3 separate regions of the Homo sapiens genome follow, and regions 1 and 2 are each linked to region 3. The links are contacts of gene promoters, found by promoter capture Hi-C in human tissues and cell types (Jung and others, 2019). All regions are on one chromosome and are shown on one strand. Each heading gives the region's core, a stretch centred on a gene start or on the middle of the fragment in contact. The rest is flanking DNA. Distances are from core to core; before and after follow the strand shown.

Region 1 (2,706 bases), core at 55-2,554, 380 kb after region 3:
CCCCATCTCTGCAAAAAAAAAAAAAAATTAGCTGGGTGCGATGGTGTACACCTGTAGTTCCAGCTACTTGGGAAGCAGAAGTGGGTGAATTGCTTGAGCCTGGAATGTTACGGCTTCACTGGGCTATGGTGGTGTCACTGCACTCCAGCCTTGGCAAGAGAATGATACCCTGTCTCTAAACAAAAAAACCCAAACCTCAAAACAAATTGGATTGTTTGTTTACTTATGACAGCAGTTTCTCCTTATCTGCTGGGTATACATTCCAAGACCCCCCAATGAATGCTTGAAACCATGGATAGTACTGAACTCTGAACTTTATACATACTACATTTTTTCCTATAAATATATACCTATGATAAAGTTTAATGTACAAACTAGGCAAAATAAGAGACTAAAAATAATAATAAAATAGAACAATTATAACAGTAAACTGTAATAAAAGTTACGTGAATGTGGGCTCTGTCTCTCTCTCTCAAAATATCTTGTTGCATGTAATATTTTCCGACCACAGTTTACTGCTGGTAACTGAAACCACACAAAGTGGAACCACAGACAAGCGTGTGGTGGGGGGTGCTGTAATGCATTTTGTTCTTTATATATTCCAGACATAAATCCTTTATCAGATATGTGATTTTAAAATACTTTCTTCCAGTCTATGAATTGCCTTTTTATTCTGTTAACAGTGTCTTCCCAAGAGCAGATGCTTTTAATGCTGATGAAGGCTGGTTTATTGTTTTTATAGATGATGCTTTTGAAATCACAGCTAAAAAATCTTTGTCCACTCAAGATCACAGAAATGTTCGCTTAGGTTTACTTCTAGCAACTGTGTAGTCTTAGGTGTGACATTTACGTCTGCAGTACATTTTGAGTTATTTTTATATGTGGTCCGGGTATAGATCGAGGCTCTCTTTTTCTTTTTGCACATGCATATTCAATAGTTCCAGCATCACTGGTTGAAAAGACATTTCTTTCTCTACGAATTGTCACATTTACATATTATACCACTTCACATACAGTGCAAGAACCTTACGTCAGTGTTATGGATTGAAATTGTGTCCCACAAAATTCATATGTTGAAATCCCAGCCCCCAGTACCTCATGACGTGATCGTTATTTGAAGGTAAGACCTTTAAAGAGGTAATTTAGGCCGGGTACGGTGGCCCGCACCTGTAATCGCAGCACTTTGGGAGGCCGGGTACGGTGGCTCGCGCCTGTAATCCCAGCACTTTGGGAGGCCGAGGCAGGCGGATTGCCTGAGCTCAGGAGTTCAAGACCAGCCAACATGGTGAAACCCTGTCTCTACTAAAATACAAAAAATCAGTTGGGCGTGATAGCGTGCACCTGTAATCCCAGCTACTCGGGAGGCTGAGGCAGAAGAATCGCTTGAACCCGGAAGGTGGAGGTTGCAGTGAGCTGAGATCATGCCACTGCACTGCAGCCTGGGCAACAGAATGAGACTCAGTCTCAAAAAAAATAAAATAAATAAATAAATAAATTTTAAAAATAAAGAGGTGATTAAGTAGAAATGAGGCATGAATGTGGGGCTCTAATTCAACATGGCTGGCATTCCTATAAGACGAGGAGACCAGGTCACACAGAGTCCCCTGGGTGAGCCCGCGTGGAGGGAAGACCATGTGAAGAGGCAGCAAGAGAGCAGCTGTCTGCAGACCAAGGAGAGAGACTTCTGCGGAGACCACACCCGTCAACGTCTTCATCCCAGACTCTCAGCCTTCAGAATGGTCAGAGGACACATTTCTGCTGCTGAAGCTACCTAGTCTGTGGTAGCTTGCTATGGAAGTGTTAGAAAACTAACAAGGAAAGTGGGGGTCTGTGTGTATTTGGGGGATCAAAGCCTTTGTGCAGAGGCCCCTGACCCTCCACTCTCAAGGCCTGGGTAGGGCTGAGGAATGACCGCATCTGTGCTTCTACAGGCTTGCATCGCCCTGGCAGCTGGAAGCCGGTTCTGCGGTGTTAGGTGAACACAGGGCACCTGACTGGTCCAAGCACGCCACCCAGAGGCAGCCTTGGAACTGCACCTGCTGGGCAGGACCTGGGCTCTACCTGCGTCCTTCCTGACAGCCCATCAGAGTCCATGGGATGGATGCACCTGCTCGTGCACCTGCCTCCAAGGTCTGTGGGCTAGGTGGGCCCAAGGGGGCCTGGTGTTGGCACAGAGCCTCTGGAGCCAGGAAGATGGTGGCAGTGTTTGGTGGCTTCTCCTGGCCTGAACATGGCCCCCAGGGCTGGGGTGGGATAGGATGCCCTCATCTGCAGGTCCTTAAGCGGTTGTGATGACAAGAAGTGGGAGTGGCTGCTCAGGGCCCCTGGGCAGCTGGACCTTGGGGACAGTCCCTGGGCTGGGAAGGCGCTCAGAGTGCACGTCTTAGCAGCCTGGGGTGCCTGCTGCCCTTGACGGGGACATGGGTGGGTTTTTATAGGGCAGGGGAGTGGCCGACCTTGGGTAGAAAGGAGCAGAACGAAGGCCGGAGGAGGGAGGTGACTGGGCAGAGGCAGCCCCAGTGGCCGGGCCGCTTGCCCCCGTCTGTCCTGTGGGGCTCCCTCACGTCCCTTCAGTCTGCCCCCACTTTGGCGCCTTGAATTTGAGAGAGGCCACGTGTTCTTGAAGCCTAGTGGGATCCTCGGCAACTGCTTTTGAAATTCCTCTTTCACAACCAAGGTGGCTGGGGCAAGCCATCTCCCATCAGC
Region 2 (2,700 bases), core at 22-2,521, 310 kb before region 3:
CTGTGCCTGGCTTGGTATTTGCTTTTAAATTCTGGTTCTATCTTTTCTGGTTATACCAAAGAATTAAACTTTTATTTATCACATCTCCCCAATTTTTCCTAAGTAATTTGTTGCATTACAGCTTTTTATGTTCACGGGATTTCTCTACTTAGCGAATGTTAAATTACATCTCCTCCAGTACATCTTCCCCTTTGGTGACTCACAGCAGTAATCCTCCCTGATTTCGTCACTGAAACAGAATGTGGCAAGCAGTGTGAGTGGAGACATGCGTGAAACGTCTGCACCTGCCCGCCCGCTGCCCCCACACGGTGCCATCAGCTTCAGGATGCGCTTCCTCAAACCTTCTCCAGCGTTTGCCGTGCTTCTGACAGAATTTGCTGACAAAACGCAACGCATTTCAGTGTGTCATCATCATGTTTTCACCAGCACGGGAAGGAAGAATTTCCCCAATGCATGAGGCTCTTTGTCTTTTGCAATTAACCAGAAGAGGTTTCTAAATATTGATCACGAAGCTCATCACAGGGCCAGAAGTGCTGGATTAAGCCCTGGGTGGCAGTTTACATCCCTCTCCGTCCTGGAGGGGCCAGTCTCATGTTCTGGTGCGGGGCATGTAATCACGGTGGCTTCCTGCCATCCTGAGCTAATCTCCCCAAGCACAGCACATACCCTGAGGGAGGCTCACCAAGGAAAAACGCTTCGAATCCCCTAAGAGGCTTCTTGAAAAAATGACACTTCCAGTCAACTTCTGAGGGGATGTAACCAGATTGATGTTGCGCCCTACAAAGCTCGCAGTGGCAAGAGTGCTGTCGGCCCTGAGCTCTGCGCTCCCTGTTGTGTGCACGCCCAGTTAGGCCCAGCCTTAGCCAGCCACTTCCTTGCAGGAACCTTTTAAAGCCACTGGTCCGTCTTGGAAAGGGTATGCGACCTGCGGCAGCGGCACACACGCACGCCACGCAGCCCCAGCCTCGGAAGCCGGCAGCACGGAAGAGCCGGGGCCGTGCCCCACGCGGTCCAGTGCCCTCATCCCCAGGTCACTCCCTGACCAAACAACAGAGACTGCAAGCGGGCAGGAGTGTCAGTTCATAATCACAACATCAGCAGAGCTTCCTCTCTCACCTTTCCATAAAGTATTTCAAAGGGAGCCAGCTGTTCTGCCACAAGGTCACAACTTTGGCAGTTACATACCTGGCTGTGGTGTCTGGCAAGGCCCAGCCCTTCTTGGTGTCCCTTTCATTATAAATAAGAAATATTTATCAAACACAAAAAGAACAATATGATATCATTACGGTTTTCATGCAGAAACACGGCATCCTCTGCTAGTGCCAATCTTCCTTCGGGCCTTTCCTGAAACAGCTCCGTGGCAGTCAGGCTGCCTGCTAAGGATGCTGTTGGATCGTCTGTCTCTGCTGCTTTGGGTTATGGTGAATGGGATGTGTTCTAACTGGCTGGCGGTGATATAGAGGGTGGCGACTGGGTTTCGTGCACTTACTGTATGCCCCGTTATTGTGCTGACTTTCTCAATGGTTACATTTACTTCTATTTCAATTCTTACTGCTTTAGACAGAATTGCCAAAATAATATTTAATATTATTTTGTTCATTTGTTAATTGGAGAATTTATTTCTTCTCTATCCTTCAAAAGAGCTTATAATCCCAGTGGTCAGAAACAAGCAAAATACCGTTATGTGAGACAGCGGTCACGACTCACGAGGGAAAAGGGCAGAAGTGGGAGATGCTGGGGCTGCAGTTTCAACAGTGGAGTCAGAGAAGCTTCACAAGCTGACAGCTCAGCGAAGATTGAAGGAGGTGAGGACATGGGACCACGGACGTTGGCAAAGATTGAAGGTGAGGACATGGGACCATGGACATCTGTGGAAGGAGCGCTCCAGACAGAGGAAGGTGGCAGTAAAACCCTGGGCTCGGCATGCTGGCCTGGCTGAATGGCGGCAGAAAGGCCACTGGGCCCAGCACCCTACAGGGCAAAGGGCCTGGGAGCCACTGTAACGACCCTGGCCTTCATCCCCAGGTCAGGAAACTCCTAGAACAAAAAGACGACAGGATCTGGCGCTGGGGCAGCCGGGGTGGGCATGAGCAGAGCAGGAGCAGCCAGAAGGCTATTCAATATTCCAGAGAGAGATGCGACTTGAGCCGCAGGGGCAGAGGTGGGAAGAGCAGCAGCAGCTGGGCCTGGGCATGTCCTGACGCCAGGGTGGAGGGGCAGACGGGCTGGGCATGAGCTGTGACAACAGAGGCATCAAGGCCAACCTGAAGGTTCTGGCCTGACCAAGGGAGATGGAGGGGCTGCCCTTCCCGAAGAGAAGGGAGACTGGTAGAATTGGTTTGGGCAGCAGGTGTTAAGATGATAAGCTCAGATCTAAATATGCCAAGGAGCTGGGCATGGTGGCTCACACCTGTTATTCCAACACTTTTGGACGCCCAGGAGGGAGGAATGCTTGAGCCCAAGAGATGGAGACCAGCCTAGACAACGGAGCTAGAACCTATCTCTACAAATAAAAAAATTAGCCAGACACGGAAGCAGGCGCCCGTGGTCCCAGTTACCCGGGAGGCTGAGGCAGGAAGATCACCTGAGCCCAGGAGGTCAAGGCTGAAGTGAGCTGTGATCATGCCACTGCACTCCCGCCTGGGTGCCAGAGTGAGATCCCATCTCTAAAAATAATAATAATTTTAATAATAATAATTT
Region 3 (2,708 bases), core at 111-2,610:
ACGAGGGTCTCTGTGTTTCCAGAAGGCCCCACACACCCAAGTGCCCCTCACACCTCGTGCCTCCCCCTCACAGGGTGGCCACCTGCACCAGCGTCAGGGCCCAGGGTGCTGTGACCGATGAGACCTCAGCTCAGCCCTCAGGTGCAGTGGCCCTACCCAGCCTGGCCAGCAGACACACACAGGGATGCTCACGGGTGCACCAGGAGCCAGGTGCGGCGCAGCCAACCCTGAGCCTGCAGGGAGACCTGCAGGAAGCCCACCGTGCCCCATGCAGGGGCTCCCTCCAGCACACAGCCCTCACCCCAGCACAGCCAGCAAGGACACGCTCTCCCCAACAGGGTGCTTCGGCGGGAGGTGGGGGAACAAGGGGTCTTCCGAGCAGCCCCCAGCCCTCCCCTCCCATCTGTGCCTCTGTAAGGGGCTCTGGGACGCCCAGACCCTGCCCGCCGCCCACCTGGTGGTGACAAGCTCCAGCAGCCAGTGGGTCCGGACCTGCTTGATGCCGCGGTGAGGGACGGCGCCCACATAGGCGAGGTTGAGCTGCTGGTCCCAGCTGAGGACGTACTGGTCAGCCTGGCTGTGTGGCAGCGGGGGGCTGGGGACAACAAAGGGGCGGCTCAGTCCCGAGCCTCAGCATGGCTGGCAGCGCGGCTGACACACACGTTCAAGCCCAGGACTGCCCGGGCGCAGGATCCAGGCGCTGCCCGTGCGTTCAGTGACTAATAAAATGACCCTTAGGGCCAGGAATGTGGGGAGGTCCCATCTTCATGGGGAACGGCAGCAGCAGTAAGACGAGGGGCCAACGCCAGCCCTGGCCCTGGCCCTGCCAGGAAGGCGGGTACCTCAGCTCTAGGTGGAAGGAATGGGACAGGCAGGCCAGGTCCCGCTGCAGGGCCGTCCACTCCCAGGGGAGACTCCTGGTTTACCTCAAAGAGCAGGATCCCGGGCATCGGCCTGGGCTGCAGGGGGCGGCCCAGGCTCACGCCCCGGCGCCCACTCAGGTGGAGGACCCACCCACAAACACGGCGGGGGGCGGGCCCGGGAGAGCCAGGGCCCCAGAGGAGGGAGCTCCGGTCTCTGAAGCTCTCACAGTGCGCAGTCAGGGGGCGCCCGAGCTCTCCCCGTGCGGCCAGGGGGTCCCGGAGGCCGCGGAGCGCTCACCAGAAGCCTGTGCTCCTCCAGAAGCGCCGCAGGGGCCACAGCGCGCGGGCCGCGTCCACATGCACCAGGTGCGGGGCCTCGGCCGGGGCCACCGGGGGCGCGGCCAGGAGCGAGGCCAGGAGCGCCAGCAGCGCGGCGCGGGGGCGCAGGGGACGCATGGCCACGCGTGCTCGGGGACTGCGGGGCTTCGGGCTGCACTGCCGGTTCCGCCTCCGGGTCGGAGTCTGGGCGCGCACCCCATGTGACCGCCGCCGCGGGGCGGGGCCTTGGTGAGGGGGCGATGGCCGGGTGGGAGGGGTTGGGTGGCCTCGGGGAGCCTCGGGGAGCCGGGAGCACGGCAGGGCTTGGAGCCCCGCTTCCTTGCGGGCCTCAGGGGCTGCTCTGAGGACCGATGACTCGGAAAGCGCTCAGAAGAACGCTTCGCCCGTTGGTGCTATGTGAGTTGAGCCATTACTGTCTTGTTTTTCTCTGTTTTTGTGTGTTTTTGAGACAGAGTCTTGCTTTGTCGCCCAGGCTGAGGTGCAGTGGCGCGATCTCAGCTCACTGCAACCTCCATCTCCGGGGCTTCAGCGATTTTCTCACCCCAGCCTCCTGAGTAAAGCGTGCGCTTTAGCAGGAAGGAGAATTACCCCAGAAGAGCACACTGGGCCCTCCTTACACTTGGCTTCAGATCCATGGATTCAACCAAGCAGACTGAAAATATTGTTTTAAAGCCAAAGCAATACGAAATAATACATATTTTAAAACAATACAGTATAACAGCTATTTACAGAGCATTTACATTGTTTTAGGGACTATAAGTAATCTTGATTTAAACTACACAGTAGGATGTGCGTAGGTAATGTGCAAATACTGTGCCATTTTATATCAAGTACTTGAGCACCTGCAAATTTTGGTATCTGGGAGGGTCCTGGAACCAATACCCCGAGGATACCATGGGACAACTGTAGTACATGTGTAGTCCATGTATGCATGTGTGAATCCAAGCAAACATTGTATAAAAATAATAATGGAAAGAACAGGCTTGGTGCGGTGGCTCACACCTGCAATCCCAGCACTTTGGAATTGCAGGCCAACACGGGAGGATCACTTGAGGCCTGGAGTTTGAAATCGGCCTGGGAGATGTACCAAGACCCCATCTGTACAAAAAAAAAATTTAGCCAGATGCGATGGTATATGCCTGTGAGGCCCAGCTACCCACGAAATTGAGGTGGGAGATTGCTTGAGCTTAGGAGTTCAAGGCTGAGACGGGCCATGATCACACCACTACATTCCAGCCTGGTTGACAAAATGAGACCCCATCTCTAAAAAAAGAAAAGAAAAAAAGAACAGTCTACTAACAAAACGAAAATACTGGACAATAATCCTCTCTAAGTTGGGAGAAGGATAATTAGAGTTACAGTGTTCTGGGTCTTTTTATTTTGGGGAGAGGGGTTAAAATATTGCTTAACATTAGGTCTTCTTATGTTGAAATTGCATTAAAAGTGATTAGCCATTTAAAAGTGAAATAGTGTGTATATATTCCAAATTAGCAAGGAGGAAAAACA

What was found. The method cuts DNA at HindIII sites, captures the fragments that hold promoters and counts their contacts. A contact is called where the count stands out against the background at its distance.
Region 1: a fragment that was not itself captured here is called in contact with the fragment with the promoter of IDUA in region 3 in 1 of the 25 tissues and cell types used here (lymphoblastoid cells).
Region 2: a contact is called between a fragment that was not itself captured here and the fragment with the promoter of IDUA in region 3, in 1 of the 25 tissues and cell types used here (lymphoblastoid cells).

Annotation. Positions count from the first base shown.
Region 1 is chr4:602,143-604,848 of GRCh38, reverse strand. All of the region lies in intron 1 of LOC124900162 (a long non-coding RNA gene), which reads right to left. Among named protein-coding and RNA genes, the nearest start is that of PDE6B, 22 kb to the left of the region's middle. The HindIII fragment of the contact is 9,672 bases long and covers 1-2,706 here.
Region 2 is chr4:1,298,867-1,301,566 of GRCh38, reverse strand. All of the region lies in intron 1 of MAEA (macrophage erythroblast attacher, E3 ubiquitin ligase), which reads right to left. Among named protein-coding and RNA genes, the nearest start is that of MAEA, 10 kb to the right of the region's middle. The HindIII fragment of the contact is 9,660 bases long and covers 1-2,700 here.
Region 3 is chr4:985,696-988,403 of GRCh38, reverse strand. IDUA (alpha-L-iduronidase) reads right to left here and starts at 1,360. Exons shown (of 14, transcript NM_000203.5): 1 at 1,162-1,360; 2 at 455-595. The coding sequence starts at 1,319. SLC26A1 (solute carrier family 26 member 1) reads left to right here. Exons shown (of 3, transcript NM_022042.4): 3 at 1-747. RefSeq lists silencers at 894-1,071, 854-1,503 and an enhancer at 1,714-1,773. The HindIII fragment of the contact is 27,782 bases long and covers 1-2,708 here.